Linked DNA regions of Homo sapiens: regions 1, 2, 4, 5 and 6 are each linked to region 3. Evidence: promoter capture Hi-C in 16 types of primary human blood cells and fetal thymus (Javierre and others, 2016). All regions are on one chromosome and are shown on one strand. Each heading gives the region's core, a stretch centred on a gene start or on the middle of the fragment in contact. The rest is flanking DNA. Distances are from core to core; before and after follow the strand shown. Region 1 has its middle 15 kb from the start of TMEM177. Region 2 overlaps LOC101927764 (a long non-coding RNA gene). Region 3 holds the start of EPB41L5 (erythrocyte membrane protein band 4.1 like 5). Region 4 has its middle 46 kb from the start of INHBB. Region 5 overlaps LOC101927764 (a long non-coding RNA gene). Region 6 overlaps TMEM177 (transmembrane protein 177).

What was found. Contacts are between HindIII fragments. The CHiCAGO score rates a contact against its expected background, and 5 or more counts as called.
Region 1: a contact is called between a fragment that was not itself captured here and the fragment with the promoter of EPB41L5 in region 3, in 2 of 17 cell types (total CD4 T cells and fetal thymus). The highest score is 6.5, in total CD4 T cells.
Region 2: a contact is called between a fragment that was not itself captured here and the fragment with the promoter of EPB41L5 in region 3, in 10 of 17 cell types (total CD4 T cells, naive CD4 T cells, total CD8 T cells and 7 more). The highest score is 11.3, in total CD4 T cells.
Region 4: a fragment that was not itself captured here is called in contact with the fragment with the promoter of EPB41L5 in region 3 in 3 of 17 cell types (total B cells, non-activated CD4 T cells and naive CD4 T cells); the score reaches 6.1 in total B cells.
Region 5: a contact is called between a fragment that was not itself captured here and the fragment with the promoter of EPB41L5 in region 3, in 3 of 17 cell types (total B cells, naive CD8 T cells and non-activated CD4 T cells). The highest score is 7.3, in total B cells.
Region 6: a contact is called between a fragment that was not itself captured here and the fragment with the promoter of EPB41L5 in region 3, in 3 of 17 cell types (total CD8 T cells, total CD4 T cells and non-activated CD4 T cells). The highest score is 5.9, in total CD8 T cells.

Annotation. Positions count from the first base shown.
Region 1 is chr2:119,662,334-119,665,244 of GRCh38, forward strand. No RefSeq gene overlaps it. Among named protein-coding and RNA genes, the nearest start is that of TMEM177, 15 kb to the right of the region's middle. The HindIII fragment of the contact is 259 bases long and covers 1,518-1,776 here.
Region 2 is chr2:119,747,929-119,750,989 of GRCh38, forward strand. All of the region lies in intron 1 of LOC101927764 (a long non-coding RNA gene), which reads right to left. Among named protein-coding and RNA genes, the nearest start is that of PTPN4, 10 kb to the right of the region's middle. The HindIII fragment of the contact is 3,071 bases long and covers 1-2,950 here.
Region 3 is chr2:120,011,464-120,014,379 of GRCh38, forward strand. EPB41L5 (erythrocyte membrane protein band 4.1 like 5) reads left to right here and starts at 1,614. Exons shown (of 25, transcript NM_020909.4): 1 at 1,614-1,747. It overlaps LOC107985817 (a long non-coding RNA gene), which reads left to right. Exons shown (of 4, transcript XR_001739205.2): 3 at 177-195; 4 at 930-1,241. RefSeq lists a silencer at 1,790-1,959. The HindIII fragment of the contact is 11,072 bases long and covers 1-2,916 here.
Region 4 is chr2:120,298,167-120,301,121 of GRCh38, forward strand. No RefSeq gene overlaps it. Among named protein-coding and RNA genes, the nearest start is that of INHBB, 46 kb to the right of the region's middle. The HindIII fragment of the contact is 2,162 bases long and covers 569-2,730 here.
Region 5 is chr2:119,731,341-119,734,265 of GRCh38, forward strand. The region is part of intron 1 of LOC101927764 (a long non-coding RNA gene); the gene reads right to left. Among named protein-coding and RNA genes, the nearest start is that of PTPN4, 27 kb to the right of the region's middle. The HindIII fragment of the contact is 5,353 bases long and covers 1-2,925 here.
Region 6 is chr2:119,680,568-119,683,501 of GRCh38, forward strand. TMEM177 (transmembrane protein 177) reads left to right here. Exons shown (of 2, transcript NM_030577.3): 2 at 265-1,551. The coding sequence starts at 287. The coding sequence ends at 1,222. Among named protein-coding and RNA genes, the nearest start is that of TMEM177, 2.8 kb to the left of the region's middle. The HindIII fragment of the contact is 1,199 bases long and covers 1,041-2,239 here.

The DNA of each region.
Region 1 (2,911 bases), core at 397-2,896, 350 kb before region 3:
TAATAGATAAAATTTAGAATCCAGAACATCCGAGATGGAAGGACATGGAATGTCGTCTAGCCCCACCCTGGTAAGTATTGGTGGAATCTCTGTAAATTTATCAAGTCCATGCAGTTTCCTTGCTTTTTATTAAAGAAGGGGAAGTAACAGTATTGACGTCATAGAATTGTTGTGAGGTTAAATGAGATCATCCTGGTAGCACAATGCACAATAAATACACAATAAATATTAGCTGTTATTAGGATCACAATATTTATTTGTTAAGGGAGTGAAGCTGAGTCCTCACTCACCACTGCATCTTCTTCAGTTATCCTTTCTACCCTCCACCCATTCATCTCCTGTGCTCCAATAGCTATGTTGGGATCTATGCATGAAAGAGAACTCTCCAGATGGTGAAGGAGATGGAGCATTGCACTAAAGAACACTAGGCCAGGCGTGGTGGCTCACAGTCTGAAGTGCCTTAGCACTTTGGGAGGCTAAGGCAGGAGCATCGCTTGAGCCCAGGAGTTTGAGACCAGCCTGGGCAACATAGTGAGACTTCGTCTCTACAAAAAAATTAATTAGCCAAGCATGGTGGCACGTGCTTGCAGTCCCAGCTACCCAAGAGGCTGAAGTAGAAAAACTGCTTGAACTCACGAGGTCAAGGCTGCAGTGAGCCATTATCGCCACACCACTGCACTCTAGCCTGGGTGACAGAGTTAGACTCTTTCTCAAAACACACACACACACACACACACACACACACACACACAAAGTCTCTCTCTTCCAGCAGGGTTTTGAGGATGGGTTTCGGTAAATGTTTAAAGAGTGGAGATGATTAGAGTATGGACTCCCTGAAGGTAGGGGAATGGACTTGGCCCAGGGCTACTCATGTCTCTTCCAAAGATATGGAGACATCCCTCTCAGGTCTCTTTGCCCAAACCATGCAGCCTTCCCTTTTGGATTAAGACCACTGGCCTCCTGCTCTCTCTCACTAGATGGCATCACAGAGAGGTGTTTCAACATGAAGGCAAGGAGACCTACCTCTCCTGGAGGACATCTTGCAGGAGGCCTGGGAGCACCAAGAAAATGGGCAGCCCCTTACCGTGAGGGAGAGCCACAGCACCCCTCCCCTTCCTCCTCACCATGAGCCCCATCAGAGCAAGCCAGGCAGGCCAGAAACTGATAGTCTGGCATTACAAGACAGGCTGAGCTTACCTTATCCCTTCTTTCAGGAATTTAGACCAGGAAGTAGAGAGAGACCAAGCAAGTTAGCAACAAGGACAGAAGCTGGACAGTTATAAAATGGAGAAATTGGGCGGGGCAGCTGCGATGGGCCATGAGTGACTGAAGTTGTAGGCAAAGAAGAAGTGGGTTTTTGGTGTTTGGAAAACACGAGGAAAAAAGTAGATGCACCAAGAGATAGCAAGAAGCAAGCTGGGATAGAACCCAAGCACACCCATTGCTGAGTTCCTGCCCCCGTTCCCAGCCAGCCCCTGGAACAGGGCCCAACCTGAAAACCACCTCTGTCCTGAAAAAGCTTAAGTGACTCTGCTTCTTACCACCAAAAAGCCTGATCAGATCTTGGCCAAGGCATGGACCCAGGGGTCTGGTGACCCATTCTCTAAAAGTGGTGTGTTCTTAGAAAAGTATTTCATTTCTGATACTCTGTTTACAGGAAGTTTGTTAAAACCACTGTGAAAAGACTTTTCAAGGAAGCAATGCACTTTGAGGTGTATATATAAGGTAGTCAAAGAATGCTTATCCCTCCCACACACCCCCATAACCAATAGTGCAAGCTTTACACATACACACACACACACACACACACACAAATACATATACACACACAGAGTGTGTGCCCTGTCTCAGGTCCAGCTGTCAATATCTCAAAAGCTAGAGGCCCACCAAATGTGGGGTGCTTTTTTTGTGCTTACTGTCCCTGGTGGTGGAAGTTGACCTCATTTGAGGCTGAATCTAGGGACAGGCTACTCCCAAGCTCACCACTGCCTGAAGCTCCAAGCTGGCCATCCTTGGGGTGCCAATGGATCTGTTATGCACCCAAACCTCCCCACCCCCCACCTTCCAGAAGTCCTCACCCCTGCTTCAGGCTGAGGTGCCCTTCTTCTTCAACAAGAAGAGCTAGCTATTCTAAATATATATGCACCCAATACAGGAGCACCCAGATTCATAAAACAAGTTCTTAGAGACCTGTGAAGAGACTTAGACTCCCACGCAATAATAGGGGGAGACATTAACATCTCACTGTCAGTACTAGACAGATCTATGAGACAGAAAATTAACAAGGCTAATCAGGACTTGAACTCAGCTTTGGATCAAGTGGACCTAGTAGACATCTACAGAACTCTCTACTCAAATCAACAGAATATACATTCTTCTCAGTGCCACATGGTACTTATTCTAAAATCGACCACATAACTGGAAGTAAAACCCTCCTCAGCAAATGCGAAAGAACTGAAATCATAACAAACAGTCTCTCAGGCCACAGGGCAATCAAATTAGAACTCAGGATTAAGAAACTCACTCAAAACCACACAATTACCTGGAGATTGAACAACCTGCTCCTGAATGACTCCTGGGTGAATCATGAAATTAAGGCAGATATCAAGAATTTCTTTGAAACCAACGAGAACAAAGAGACAACATACCAGCTTCTCTGGGACACAGCTAAAGCAGTGTGAAGAGGGAAATTTATAGCACTAAATGCTCACATCAGAAAGCTTGAAATATCTCAAATTGACACCCTAATATCACAATTAAAAGAGCTAGAGAGGCAAGAACAAATTAATCCAAAAGCTAGCATAAGACAAGAAATAACTAAGATCGGAGAAAAATTGAAGGAGATAGAGACATGAAAAACCCTCCAAAAAATAAATGAATCCAGTAACTGTTTTTTTTAAATTAACAAAAT
Region 2 (3,061 bases), core at 165-2,664, 260 kb before region 3:
CATTGACTTATACAGATATACACATAGGTACATGTATGGTAGCCAGCCTCCACGATGGTCCTAATCCTTGCCTCCTGGTATTTACACCCTTATGTCATTCTCTCCTACAATGTATATGTCTGACTTGTGTAACAAATAGAATATTGTAGGCATGATGGTGAGTTCCAAGGCTAGGGCGTAAAAACTTATGGAGGCTTCCACCTTGCCCTCTCCGGGATCACCTTCTCTGCAGGAAGCCAGCCCTCATGTTGTGAGAACACTCAAACAGCACTATGGAGAATTTCACCTTCCAACTGGCCAGCCATGCGGTGAGCCATCTCAAAAACAGATCCTCCAGCCCCATTCTGGCCTTCAGCTCCAGATGATAGCAGCCCTGGCCACAACTTTACAGCAGACCTTAAGCCAGAACCGCCCAGCTAAGCTACTCTCGCTTTCCCAACCCACAGAAGCTGTGAGGTAACAGTTTACTGGGGTTTTATGCCAAAGGAACTTGCTAAGCAGCAATAGACAACTAATATAAACTATATACACACATAACTTTCCATATATATAATTTATAATACAATGCATATATAGTTTTTCATAATTATCAAAATAATGTGGATTTCCTGGAGAAATTTATGAGATAAGTACTATCATGATTCCCATTTTAATTGACAGGGAAACTGAAACACAGACAGTTCAAGTACTTAATCTAAGCAGTAAGTAGAGGAGACAGAATTTGATCTCAGGAAATCTGAGCTTATCACTATCTTATAGGATGGCACACTCTGGCTGACATTTTGTTGTATTTCCCTTCAGTCTTTTAAAAATACAGTTTAAAAAAATTACTAGACTTTATTTTCTAGAGCACTTTTAGGTTTGCAGAAAAATTGAGCAGAAAGTACAAAGAGTTCCCATACATTCCCTCTCCCCTCCCCTTTCACCTGGTTTCCCCTGTTGTTAACATCAGGCATTAGTGTGGTGTGTTTGTTACAACTGAGGAGCTGATATTGATGCATTAAGTTTGAGCTGGCATTAGGTTTCACTGTGTTGTACATTCAATGGGTTTTAACAAATGCATACGGATGTGTATCCACTATTATTGTATCATACAGAATAATTTCCTGCCTTCAAAATCCCGTGCTGCACCTGTTCATCCCTCCCTATGCATGCCATTCTTAAGCAGAGCTAATACTACATATACTAATTTTGCAGTTTTTAAATTAATATTGCATAAGTATTTTTTCATGTCAGTAAAACTTATAAGCATTATTTGTAATACTTGAATACCATTCTATGTGTGCATGGCTAAACCATAGCTCAATTTATTTATTCCCTTTTGTTGGGCATCAGAATTGTTCTCCCAGGACTCTTTTTTTTAAGTCCTGGGATGGAGGACCCTTGACAATTCAACTCAGCATCCTTAATGTAAGTGTGCATTTGTCTAAGGATGTATGTGTCAGCTTTAGCAAGTAGGTACAACTGCTGCAATTCCAACATCCTTAACCTGGCTCTGTCAGAAACTTGGAAACTATTGATTCTGTAAGTTATTTCTAGCCTGCCAGAGCACTTGTACTTATTCTCTCTCCCCCCAACCCCAACTTGGCTTTTAGAATAAGTTTTCATCAGTTCCCAAGAAATGAATCATTGTGAATACAAAATGACTAAGAGCATTTCTTTGGACCCTACACCCCACAACAGACACAGGCTGACCCCCTTGATGCGCTTCCAGGATTAACAAGGATCTGAGAACAAGCAGTATAGAAGTAGGGGCAATAAAGGAAATTGATGTTCTCTGAGATTGATTTGTCAAATATTATGTATATCTTTTGCCTGTTCCCAAATTCCTTCACTTAATTCTAAATTTGATTTTAACAGCCTACAAATTCCTGTTGGATTAAATCTTTATGACTCATCTGTACTTTCAAGTTCCTGTAATTGAAAATTCCATTTATATGTGATTTTCTTATTATTATAGTATCTTCTTTTGCACACCAGAGGACACCTGGGTGTGTATTTCAGGAAGGTATATAGACCTGTTTGGACTGGCCTAATAGTCAGATTGTCATCAATAAGAAGGAATGAGGCACACAAAATTTAAGCCTCACATTTAAGCCTTGCCCTGCCCTCCACCTACAACTCTCTCTCTGTCTCTCTTTCTCTCTCTCTCTCTCTGAAACCTGATGCTCAGATAGAAAGTTGGGTTCTAGGCCAGACGCGGTGGCTCACGCCTGTAATCCCAGCACTTTGGGAGGCCAAGATGTGCAGATCACGAGGTCAGGAGATCGAGACCATCCTGGCTAACATGGTGAAACCTCATCTCTACTAAAAATACAAAAAAATTAGCCAGGCGTGGTGGCGGGTGCCTGTAGTCCCAGCTACTTGGGAGGCTGAGGCAGGAGAATCGCTTGAACCTGGGAGGCAGAGCTTGCAGTGAGCCGAGATCGCGCCACTGCACTCCAGCCTGGCAGCAGAGTGCGACTCTGTCTCAAAAAAAAAAAAAAGTTGGGTTCGAAACTGTGTGACTTCGATAATCCTTAGTGCTAGTATTGACAGGAGAAGAACCTAAAGTAGTTAGAAACTAGAAGTGGTAAACTTGAACCAGCAACTGCAAGACTTTGTAAGTCACTGATTTTGATGAAAGAGACATTTGTCTCACTCATAATGGGCAGTTTGTCTTTTAATTCTGAGAAAGTTAACCTAAAAAGAGTGAAGCACAACCTTAATTTTTGTTTTAATGTGTTCCCGGAAATTCAGATTGAAGAATAAAAATGTATATAACTTGCTGAATGCCTACAATATAATTTAGATAACTTAGTTGGTTTTTCCAGTGAAAATTATTAGGCCACAGTAAAATGCTGGGTTAACCTGTCAACATTCAGTAGAAAATTCAGGAACTATAATAAATAGGGGGCCCAACAGCCTTTACTGAAAATTAATACAAATTTTAGTCAAGTGACTAGCAATAAGCTTTTAAGATCACCATTTGTTATAATCTATTATAAGTTTTGCTTTACCTCCAGCAAAAGTTCTCATATAAAATTGGAAACATTATTTAAACTGTTTAAATATATGATGA
Region 3 (2,916 bases), core at 364-2,863:
CACAGACCAGTGAAACCACCTTGGCAGCTCCAGCACCTGTTGAGCTGCCCAGCCAACACCACATGGGGCAGAGATGAGCTGCCAAGCCTGTCTACTACGTTTTGGGGTGGTGGAGGAGTGGGCAGTGCCAAATCCCGAGAAGAAGCTCAATGAGTATTTGTCTCTTTTCATTTCAGCAAGCAGAGGGTCCTCAAGGTAACACCTTCCAGTGGCTCCCCCACCTCTCTCAGAGCTCTAGCCAGGGCCCACAAGGCCCTACATCTTACCCCTTTCCTCTCTGACTGTCACCTCCTCTTCCTCTTGCTTCCTCACTTCTAGCCACACTGGACTTCCTTGAAAAGACAGACCTGTCCCCTTGCAGGGCCTTTTGCCCTTGCTGTTCCCTTCGGTTCTCCCCAGATGGCCACAGGGTTCCTCCCACACCTCCTCTAGGTCTTCATTCAAATGCTACCTTTTTTTTTTTTTTTGAGACTGAGTCTGGCTTTGTCGCCAGGCTGGAGTGCAGTGGCGTGATCTGGGCTCACTGCAACTTCCGCCTCCCGGGTTCGAGCGATTCCCCTGCCTCAGCCTCCTGAGTAGCTGGGACTACAGTCGGACGCCACCAGGCTCAGCTAATTTTTGTATTTTTAGTGGAGACGGAGTTTCACAGTGTTGGCCAGGCTGGTCTCGATCTCCTGACCTCGTGATCCGCCCGCCTCGGCCTCCCAAAGTGTTGGGATTACAGGAGTGAGCCACCGCGCCCAGCCAAATGCCACCTTCTTATTGTGACCTGCTATGTAAAATCGCAAACCCTCACTGCCTGTGGTTATTCCCTACTTGTACTTTTCTTTTTAGCATTTACCAATGTCTGACAGTATTTAATTTCACTAATTTATCTCGTTTATTTTATGTCTCGTTTATATTCCTGCTATAACGTAAACTCCGGGAAGGATTTTTGTCTGTCTTGGTTGTCTGTCGTATCTCGTGTCTAGAACACAGAACTCACAGTAAGTAGGCACTTCAATCAATTACCTGTAGAATGAACGGACTGAATGTCACCTTGTTAGAGTACCCTCCTGACCACACTCTGCTAAGCAGTAATCTTTTATTTCTCTTTCCCAGTTTTATTTTTCCTCATTTACACTTAATCACCTTGTGACACCTATTTGTTTACTGTTTCCCCAGTAGAGTGAAAGTCACTTTAACAGCAGAGATTTAAATGTATTTTAATCCCTACAAAGGAGAAAAAGGGAGGAAATACGTGACAGGCTCTCAATAAGTATTTGCGAAGGATTTAATCTCTTGAACGAATGGATGAATGAATCTAGCAGCCAGCTCCACCAGCCTCCTTCGTGATAGGACTAACTGGGGTCTGTCTGCGGACGGGCGCCTCCTCCGCGGGCGGAGGGCCGCAGCGGGAACTGGGTTTCGGCAGCGCCCCTTTAAACCAGCCGCGGACGCCCGGCTGCTGGCGCTAGTTCCAGCCCGGCCGGGCCCGGCCTCGCCGGTTTCTCTCCAGTCGCCGCGCCGGCCAATTTCCGGGGCGGTGTCATCGCCCGTTTAAGAGCGGAGCGCTCCGCCCTGGGGGCGGAGCTGGGAGGGAGCTTTAAGGGGTGGACGGGCGGGAGGTCGGGGTCCTCCGGGGATTAGAGCCGGTGGGCTCGTTGTGGGCGCCATTTCTCGGCGTCTACCGAGGAGCCGCCCCTTTCTCAGCCTTGCTCGGCTCTTCCCCGCTCTGGTCGCCGGGGCTGCGCCGTCCCCAGCTCAGGTAAGCGCGAGGCCCGGCGGCGGCGCCGCAGTACAGTCCGCTGCGCTCCTAGCCGAGTGGACCCTTCCTCGCCCGCGCCTGCGGTAGCGGCCTTGTCCCCGGGGAGGCGGGCGGGGGCCGCACCCAGACCCTAGGGCGGCCGGCCCCTCTCTCGTCGGGCCGGCAGGGCATTAATCCCGCCGGAGGGAGGGGCGGCGGCGGCCAATGAGGCAGGGCCGCCGAGTTTCGGTCGATACCGCGCGACGGGCCGGGGCGGAGGGCCCGGGGCAGCCGGGTTAATGTTTGCCGAGCGGACGCGCTCCCCGAGCCGCGGGTACCCCTCGCTGGTCCGCTGGGCTGCCGTCCAGCGGGAGAGACAAAAGTCGCAAGGGAAGGGGAAAAACGAACTGAGTTTGTGTCACTGTCTTGGTGGACTTTTCGAGCTAACCTGTATTTGAGAAAAACTTCAGTCTCTTGGGAAAGGAGAGGCAGGTGTGTTCCCATGAAAGACGAGGTCTGAAGGTCCCGCCCCGCCCCCACCCGGGACGGTTGTCGTGCTAATGATGGGTTCTTTGGTGTGTAAATGTTAATTGTGTCTGTGGTTACTCGAATTCTACCTAAGAGCGAGACCCAACTCTTAAAACGTTTGGCAATATTTTAGACTAATATTAAAAGTTTTTAAAGAATTACGGGGAAAATTCCCATAACCGTGTACATTTGTAATGTAACCCACAACTGCATTAACTCAGTTTCTAACATAACCCGTTGCTGAGCTCTAGTTAACCTTGTTGGATTATTTGTGCATGTAATATGCTGTGCAGGCTTTAGAAAATAGGTTAACATTATTCGAAAACGATATGCGTAACTGCTGTTGAATTACTCGCTTGCATTTTCTTTATTGGGAATACTGGGACAAAATATAGTGTTACCTTAAATGGCATTTGCTGTATGTTATATTGCTTTATCAAAAAGCAATTAACCAACCATATTGTGGCCACCAGTCATGTAAGAGTATACATATTTCATGACTAACTTTTGGGTTTTGGGTACTTTTTTTAACCAACTTCTGATAGGATTGCTTAAATTTGCATTTTATGATTCTAAAGGAAATCCTTCTAGTTAGGAACTAGAGTAGAAACTACTGTTTTTTGGAAGCCACATAAACCTACCATCCAAAAATTCCACTGTGT
Region 4 (2,955 bases), core at 400-2,899, 290 kb after region 3:
CAAAATTGTTTTCCCTGGGAATGTGGAAGGCTTGGCTCAGAGTTCAGGAGGGTGCATCATCACTGATCAAATTGGTGCAGCCCTCCCTGGTTGTCCCTTTGCAGTGGGGGCCCTGGCTTTTCCCTCTCTCCCGTTATCGGGGCCTTCTCCTTATCTGCAGGGTCTGAAATGAACACAGCTGTGGATCTTAAGTGTGGCTGTTTTGTGACTCATCCTGCTTGGTAGTCGGCAGAGGCTTCCAATGAAGACTCCTGCCTCTTCAGCTCTAGAAAAAGTATTTTTGAAATTCTTTGATCGCTTCTGTTTTCTCCTTCCAGAGCTCCTGTTACCACCTTTGGAACCTCCTAGATTCATGTCTGCTCCATCCATTTCCTATATTTTCCATCTTTATTTTCTCTCAAATTTATCCTCCCTCCCTGTGTTTTTCCAAGCACTTTGCCAAGCACTGTTGTAAGTTCTTGAGATAGAGCAGTGAGCAAAACAGACAAATTCCTTGCCCTTTGGAAGCTTACACTAGTGGGATCAACTTTGTCTTCTCACTTGCTCACCGTGTGTATGTGTGAACAAAAGCTTTCTTTGTCTTTATTTGTTCCTTTTTCATAGCAACTGTTCTTGGCGGCCTTACGGATTCAATATCTTGACTTTTGAAGGATATTAGATCTTTTGAAAGTTGTATTTTTATTCACTTTTTCTTCTTTATTTTTTAAGCTGCAGTTTTTCTCACGTATCTAATGATTCCTGCTTGTCCAGCCATATTCTTAGGAGGAAATAGAAAGTCGGCCAGGAGTTCCATGTACATGAGTGGGGCTTGTGAAATAGCAGGCTTGACTTTGGGGTGAATGGGTAGAAAACCAGTCATAGTGCTGGGAACCCCTAATGCCTAATCGAGGGAAGGTGTGCTCTGGGGGCCATTGGCCAGGCTGGATGCCTTGGTTCACTCCAGGCAGTTTCTTCCAAGAGAAAAGCACTGGTGATGGACAGAGCTGCCTGCAGGGGTGGGGTGGACCGTGTCCCACACAGACCTCTACCTAGGCTCTCTAGCCACGCACCGTGGTTCTGCTGCTCCATCTGCCGGTTCAGACTGAGCCGGTCCTGTTGCCCTCATCTCAACAGATCCTTCCTTATCGAACGGCTCACGTCTGGGTTTCAGCTTCTGTAAATTTGTCAGATTCACACATCAGCTAGTGACCCTTCCATTCTCTTTGCCCTTTGGGTTTTTTAAATACTATTATTTGAAGAGAGGCTTCAGGGGAGACTAACTTTTGGGCTCAGCTTTCCATTTTGCCCTGGTTTCATTGTCACAAATACTTAAAATTTCCTTTTTTTGCAGATCAATGTTAAATAAAGATTAGAGTGAACACATTGATTTGACTTTATGCAGGGGTCATTTTGAACTTGAGGGCCTATGGCAATCTCTGTTCTCCAGGAGTATGGACCTCAGCATTTGGGGTCAGACCTGGGTCTGGCCAGTTGTCTTTATTTAATTTTTGAGACAGGGTCCTGCTTGGCCACCCACGGTGGAATGCAGTAGTGCAATCATGACTCACTGCAGTCTTGAACTCCTGGGCTCAAGCAATCCTTCCGTCTCAGTCTCCACAGTAGCTGGGAATACAGATGCACGCCACCATGCCTGGCTAATTTTTAAATGCTTTTGCAGAGATGGGGTCTTGCTATGTTGCCAGACTGGTCTTGAACTCCTGGGCTAAAGCGTTCTGCCTGCCTTGGCCTCCCAAAGCGCTGGGATTACAGGTGTGAGCCACCATGACCGGCCTGGTCAGTTGTCTTCTGATACCAACTTTCAAGTGAGGGAATTGTGAGTTTTCACTAAGCCTGTGTTGATTTCACTTATATGTTTTGCTTTTACCTCTTGGTGATCAGTTTATTACCTGTGCAGGTAACAACCTGAACTGCCCGTGTGGAGTAGTACATCCTTTGTCTTATCTTTTTTGAAATGTAGCTGACTTGGGATGTTCTCTTGTTTTTATATGGTCAACAAATCTAAGTTAATTTACCTGTGCTGTTAGCGGTTTTGTAGATTTTTTGTTCTCAGGTTTGGGACGATCCTGCTTGCCAGCTGCAGTTGGTGAGTTACCTGCTCCTTGGTGATGCTGCTTTTTAAAATGCATATTGTCAGTGCAGACTTCCTGATTTCCTTTTGTAAGTTGCTACACGAGGCCCGCTTTGAGGACTTTTTAGAAAGGATGTAGTACAAGTTTTAAAACTAATTTGGGCCCTTGGGTTTAAGGCTGTTCTTCTCTATTTGAGTAGATATGAATGAAAAAAGAGACTTCCTCCAACACCCTTCCGCCCCAGCCTTTGTCTAATTCAAGTGCTAGAGCTTGTCCTGACACACCGCAGCTTGCTGTTCATTTCTACTTGTTCAGTTGTGTGCCACCAAGCTAGACGTGTTCAGTCACACTGACAGTACTGTCAGGATGATTCATTGCCACACACGTAGCTCAAGTCGGAATGGGGCCTCTGGTCGTGTCTGAGAAGCACAGAAACCTGGCTAAGCTGAGGATTCGGCCTCCCACCCAGGTTGGTGAAGGTGCTGCGGCCTGGGAGCAGGAACGGAGCCCCCAGCTGCCAGGAGTGTGAAGCTGCTTCTCCGCAGTGCAGCCTCCACAAGCCTTCTCAGGTGGCAGTGAAGAAGGACCAGATACCTAAACAGTTTTCAAGTTCCGGAATCCTTGGGAAAGTTAGTGTCCATCAACTTCACATGTTAAAACAAGCTTACGGCTGGGCGCGGTGGCTCACACCTGTAATCCCAGCACTTTGGGAGGCTGAGGCGGGTGGATCATGAGGTCAGGCGATCGAGACCATCCTGGCTAACACAGTGAAACCCCGTCTCTACTAAAAATACAAAAAAAAATTAGCCGGGCGTGGTGGCGGGCGCCTGTAGTCCCAGCTACTCAGGAGGCTGAGGCAGGAGAATGGTGTGAACCCGGGAGGCGG
Region 5 (2,925 bases), core at 374-2,873, 280 kb before region 3:
GACTCAGTTAAAGACTTTGAGATGGGGGGACTACTCGGGGTTGTTCAGGTGGGTCCAATCTAATCACACGAGTCCTTAAAAGTAGAGAACCAGCCAGGCGCGTGGCTCATGCCTGTAATCCCAGCACTTTGGGAGGCCAAGGCGGGTGGCTTGCTTGCTGGTCATGTAGACCAGCCTGGCCAACATGGTGAAACCCCATCTCTACTAAAATACACAAATTAGCTGGGCGTGGTGGCGGGTGCCTGTAGTCCCAGCTACTAGGGAGGCTGAGGCAGGAGAACTGCTTGAACCCAGGAGGCGGAGGTTGCAGTGAGCCCAGATGACGTGACTGCACTCCAGCCTGGGCGACAGAGCAAGACTCCGTTCCAAAACAAACAAAAAAAAGTAGAGAACCTTCCCCACTCATGGTCTGAGAGAGAGAGAGAGGTGAAAACTGAGGAAAGGTAGAGAGGTGGCAGCATGAGGAGGAGCCCTGCTGCTGGTTCTGGGATATCAGGGTTCATAGACAAGGATAAGAGAGAGGCCTCCAGGGGGGAGCTAAGGGATCCCCCCCAGTGACAGCCAACAAGGAAATGGGGACTTCAGTCCCACAACCTTGTCGAACTGAATTCTGCCAACTGACAAGAAAATGCATTCTCCCCTAGAATCTCCAGAAAAGAATGCATTCTTGTGTCCAAGTGAGGCTCATGTCTGACCTGCAGAACTGTATAATGATAAATTATGTTGTTTGAAACCGCTACATTTGCGGTAATTTGTTACAGCAGCAATAGAAAACGAATCCCCTGCCCAGAATGACTTCCTCCTTTCCTGTCGGACGAAGGCTCAGGCCTTCTGCTGAAAGCTCGCTCCCCTAAGTAGTCACACCCAATGCCGAATACTCCCCAGAAGCAGCTGCTATTTTCTGAGGACAATGAGTTGCTTGTAAGCCTGAGAACAGGACGAAAACCCACTTTGCAAGCAGCCCTGCGTGTGACGGGCATGCCCTCGGAGGGCAGGTTGGTTTTGCTATCTGCTTTCTGTCCTGCCTTTTTCCCCCCATGGGTCCTGTCTGGCTCTTTTGCTTTCTCACTTTGTGCAGAAAGCCATCTCAACTCTTCTCACAGGAGAATAGCTGTATGGACGTAGCAGGGGGAGTTACCACATGCCTACCTCCATGGTTTTCGAGAGGGGCCCCTGCCCAAATGTCTCAGTGGCCACCTTCATCAGACCATGGAGCAGTCAGAGCGGGAAGGGATTCTAGAGTTGGTCCAGTCCAACCATCTCATCTTACATGTGAAGGAGGAAAGGAAGAAAGGGAGAAAAATAAGAAAGCTGAGGTCAACCCTCCTACAGGGATGGGCCTGGCCAACAGGATCCCAAGGGATGACATAACATTGAAATTAAGAAACCAAGGAAAGTTGAGAACTAAAGAAAACAGAACCCAGTCAGCCAAGAGGCATCCTTGAGGGCCAACCAAGCCGTCAAACCTGGATGCCCCCGACAAGTCAGAAAGTCGGGTGCCTCAAGAGCCAAGCAGCCAAGAAATGGGGTCTGGAACTGGCACTTTGGTCCGCCTCTGTGCACTCACCCAGAAAGGGTGGAAGGGACCCTGGGACCAAGTGCCAAGGTCACACAACGGATGAATAGAGCTGCTGGACTTCAAACTGAACCATGCCATTTTGCCAAAGCAGTCATCACCTTCCGTGAATCATAAATGTTTGTTCAAAGCCACAAATGTATATACTCTTTGTATGTATACAGATTTTTTCTAAAGGTTAACATCTAAACAGATCAATTAAGGTCAGCCTTAATTTGTCTGAGCTTTTTGGTTAAAGTTTCCTGAGTAATTGAGCGAATTCAAGTTTCTGGCTTTCTCCTTTTTCTTTCTCCATTTAAAACATGATCTCATGAAATTTTTGTCCCAAGAAAGGCAGGATTACATTTTCTTTTAACAGTTTGAGTTGGTGTAGTGTATTCTTGGTTATCAGAATACTCATATAGCTTTAGGATTTTGAATTGGTAAATATTCATGATGTGTGAAAAATCATGATACATACTGTACAATCTCAGTGCCATAAAATTGGATGTTGTGCCTACACACGCACAGGACCTAGAAGAGCATGTCAAACTATAAACTGCCTGTGATTGTGAATGACTTTGTTCTTTGCTTCTTGCGTTTTTCAGTTTCCTATAATGCACATCTTAACTTTTAAAAAATAAAGGTTATTTTAAAAGCCAAAAAGAAAAAAAAAGATCTCTAACCTGTTGGCTGGTTAAAATTTGAGAAAATTAGACAAATGCTTACTTTTCCCTTTTTGGCTGACAAACAAAAGCCCAGTGAGGTATCCTCATCTGTAGAGATTTATGTCCTTTGTGGGGGGCCTGCTTCTCCCTCAAGATAGAGTAAAAAAAAAATCAGTGGTGTCACTTGGGCTCAAAAGGACAGAAGACTTGACACTGGAGTTTGAGGGTCCCAGAGGGGCTCAGCCACATAGACCTTCCTGCCCCACCCTTCCTACCACAGCCCTTTTTAGGAGCTGCCCCTACCCCCACAAGACTGTCCTTTGTTGCTGAACTATTAATTACTTAAATAGTCATTGATCACCTACCCTTTGCTAGGCCCAGGAGTCCTGTGAGATGGGCTCTTCCCTTAGTCCTCATTCCCACTGGCTATTGACACCATCCCCCGCTACACCCCCAATTCTACTATCCCCTTCCAGCCCGACACAGGACTTGCCTCTCTGAGCCTCTGACCTCTGCTTTCTCCCAGCATCTATTTTGGTTCTTCCTCCTTGGCTCAGTAAGTACATGGACAATCCCAGACCAGCCTTAAAGGCAGCCACCCCCCATGTTGGCCTCAGCCTCAGGGGCAGGGGAGGATCCTGGCCTACAAATCATGCACTCAGAGCTACAGTCCAGTCTCTGCAAGGACTGGCAGCAGACGGC
Region 6 (2,934 bases), core at 390-2,889, 330 kb before region 3:
TAAATGTTTTATGTATGTTTATTCATGTGCTCATCACCGCCACCCTAGAGGTGGGCCATTACGACACACCTGTTTGGCACATGGGGAAATTGACGCACAGAGACGGAGCTGGGATTTGAACACAGGCACTCTGGCTCTAGAGCCCACACTCTTCACCACTATGCTGTGTTACTTTGGTTTAAAAAGGTGGTGTGGACCCTGGAGGATGTTCAGTCTGCAGGCTGACCCAGGGAAACTGGCTGACTTCTCTTTTTCTTGGCCCAGATTGTCCGCAGTGACTACACTCATGGCAGGTCCCCTGTGGCGGACCGCAGCATTTGTGCAGAGACACAGGACAGGCCTCTTGGTGGGTTCCTGTGCAGGCCTGTTTGGAGTTCCAATCTCGTACCACCTCTTCCCGGATCCCGTGGTCCAATGGCTCTACCAGTACTGGCCTCAGGGCCAGCCAGCTCCGCTCCCTCCACAGCTGCAGAGCCTCTTCCAAGAGGTGCTACAGGACATAGGTGTTCCTTCAGGCCATTGCTACAAGCCCTTCACCACCTTCACCTTCCAACCTGTGAGTGCAGGCTTCCCAAGACTCCCTGCTGGGGCTGTGGTGGGCATCCCTGCCAGTTTCTTGGGAGACCTAGTGATCAACACTAACCATCCCGTGGTCATACATGGGCATACAGTGGACTGGCGGAGCCCAGCAGGCGCCCGGCTGAGAGCTTCCCTGACCTTGTCCCGTGAAGCCCAGAAGTTCGCCTTGGCCAGGGAAGTGGTGTACCTGGAAAGCAGTACCACTGCCGTGCACGCCCTGCTGGCCCCAGCTTGCCTGGCAGGGACCTGGGCACTGGGCGTGGGTGCCAAGTACACCCTGGGGCTCCATGCAGGCCCCATGAATTTACGGGCTGCCTTCAGCTTGGTGGCAGCAGTGGCAGGCTTTGTGGCCTACGCCTTCTCCCAGGATTCTCTCACTCATGCCGTGGAGTCCTGGCTGGACCGCCGCACGGCCTCCCTCTCTGCAGCCTATGCCTGTGGTGGAGTGGAGTTCTATGAGAAGCTTCTGTCGGGCAACCTGGCCCTGCGCAGTCTCTTGGGCAAAGACGGGGAGAAGCTGTATACACCCAGCGGGAACATCGTCCCCAGACACTTGTTCCGAATCAAACATTTACCCTACACCACCCGCCGGGACTCTGTGCTGCAGATGTGGAGGGGGATGCTCAATCCGGGCCGCTCCTGATGGGCTCATCACAAGGACACTTCCAGCTTGTGCAGACACCACCCTGCCATTGAGTCTGGAGGGCCCTGTTGGAGCCTTTGGACCTATAGCTCACGGCCAGAAAAATCACTGGCTTTGGAATTAAATAGCTTAGATTGTACTATAACCACTACTTATGAACTCAGGGACTATGAGGGACTATTCAGGGGCTATGAATCTGAGCCTTTGTTTCTTGAACTGTAAAGTGGAGATGATGTAAACCGCCTTGCAAGATTGTAGAGTTGGGTAAGGTCATGAACATAAGGGCCTGGCACAAAGGGTGCACTGTAAATAAACAGACATCCCTCCTTCTTGGTCGTTTTTTTTTTTTTTTTGAGAGCATCTCACTCTGTTGCCCGGGATGGACTGCAGTGGTGACCATAGCTCACTGCAGCCTCAAACTCCTGGGCTCAAGTGATCCACCCTCCTCAGGCTCTCAAAGTGCTGGAATTACAGGCGTGAGCCACCTCGCCCAGCCTCCTTCTTGGTCTTGAGTGCCACCAGGCTGTGGGAGTCAGGGCACACCTCAACACCAGGGTACTAGCAGTTATGTGAACACTTTCCTACAGTGAAGAACCACCCCTCAATTTAAGTGGTGGTCAAATCCCAATTTTCCTCCACTCTGTTAGAGGTTAAAAGACTAGAGAGCCCAAGATGAGAAGTTAGTGTGGTCCTGAGAGGCTGTTTTAAGGTGAGGGGGCCTTAAGAGTGTTGTGTCAGTCAAGGTCCCGTGGATGCAGATGGCACACTCAGGGAGAAGGAGACCAGCACGTGCCAGGAGAGTCCCTGGACCTGAGGGGAGGGGAGGTGTTCCAGAACTCCGAGATCTGTGGCATGGGAGACTTGGCAAGAGCTTCACTCAAATGTAGAGGAAGGAACAAACCATTGTAAGACCGAGGCCCTGCAGGGAGGGAGCCCACTGGCGCCATCCAGAGCTGTCAGCCTCCCCAGGCACAGCGTGGCCAGGGCTTGGAGAGGAGAGGCAGCAAGGTGGGGGTAAGCTTGGCTCGTAGGGGTCAGCAAGGAGAGCAGAGGGGTGGAGGTGGGCAGTGGGTTAGGCCTGGTCCCACTCAGGACCCAGGGGAGACTGCAGCCCTGCCCTGCTTATTTCCCTTGAGCCCTCCGGTGGTGGATGGAGCCGGGCCCCTGGGTTAGATCCTTGGACAGGACCACAGCAGGGCAAGGTGAGGAGAGTTGTGATCAGGGAGCCAGACCCAATTTGGCTTCATGACATCTTTTAGTTGGAGATGAGGTTTTCCCTGGGAAAGTATTTGAACACAGTGGTGGCAGGTCCTGGCAGTAGACCTGGAGAGGAGAGTGAGCCAGTGGGGCTGCAGAATGCAGTGGGAATGGCACACCTCCCTGCTGGGCCCCTCACTGTGGGCTGGAGCTCAGTGTGCTGGGCCAGCTCACGGGTCCTCACACTGGACCTGAACAGGCTGAGTTCCTGAGGGCAGCACATCCTTGCTCATTCCCCAGGCCCTGGTACCTAGGACGGCACTGGGCACGGGCTTGGAATACATAGGTGGATAGATGAGGCAGTGGCTGGGTGAACCAGTCTTCACTCAGGGACACACCATTTCATGGGGCCCCTTGGGGTGTCACCCACCTGCTGCTGCTGTACTTAAAGGGCCACAAGGCCATGTGAGGCCACCTCATTCCTGAGCAGTACGGTCTGGGGCCTGGATTTGATG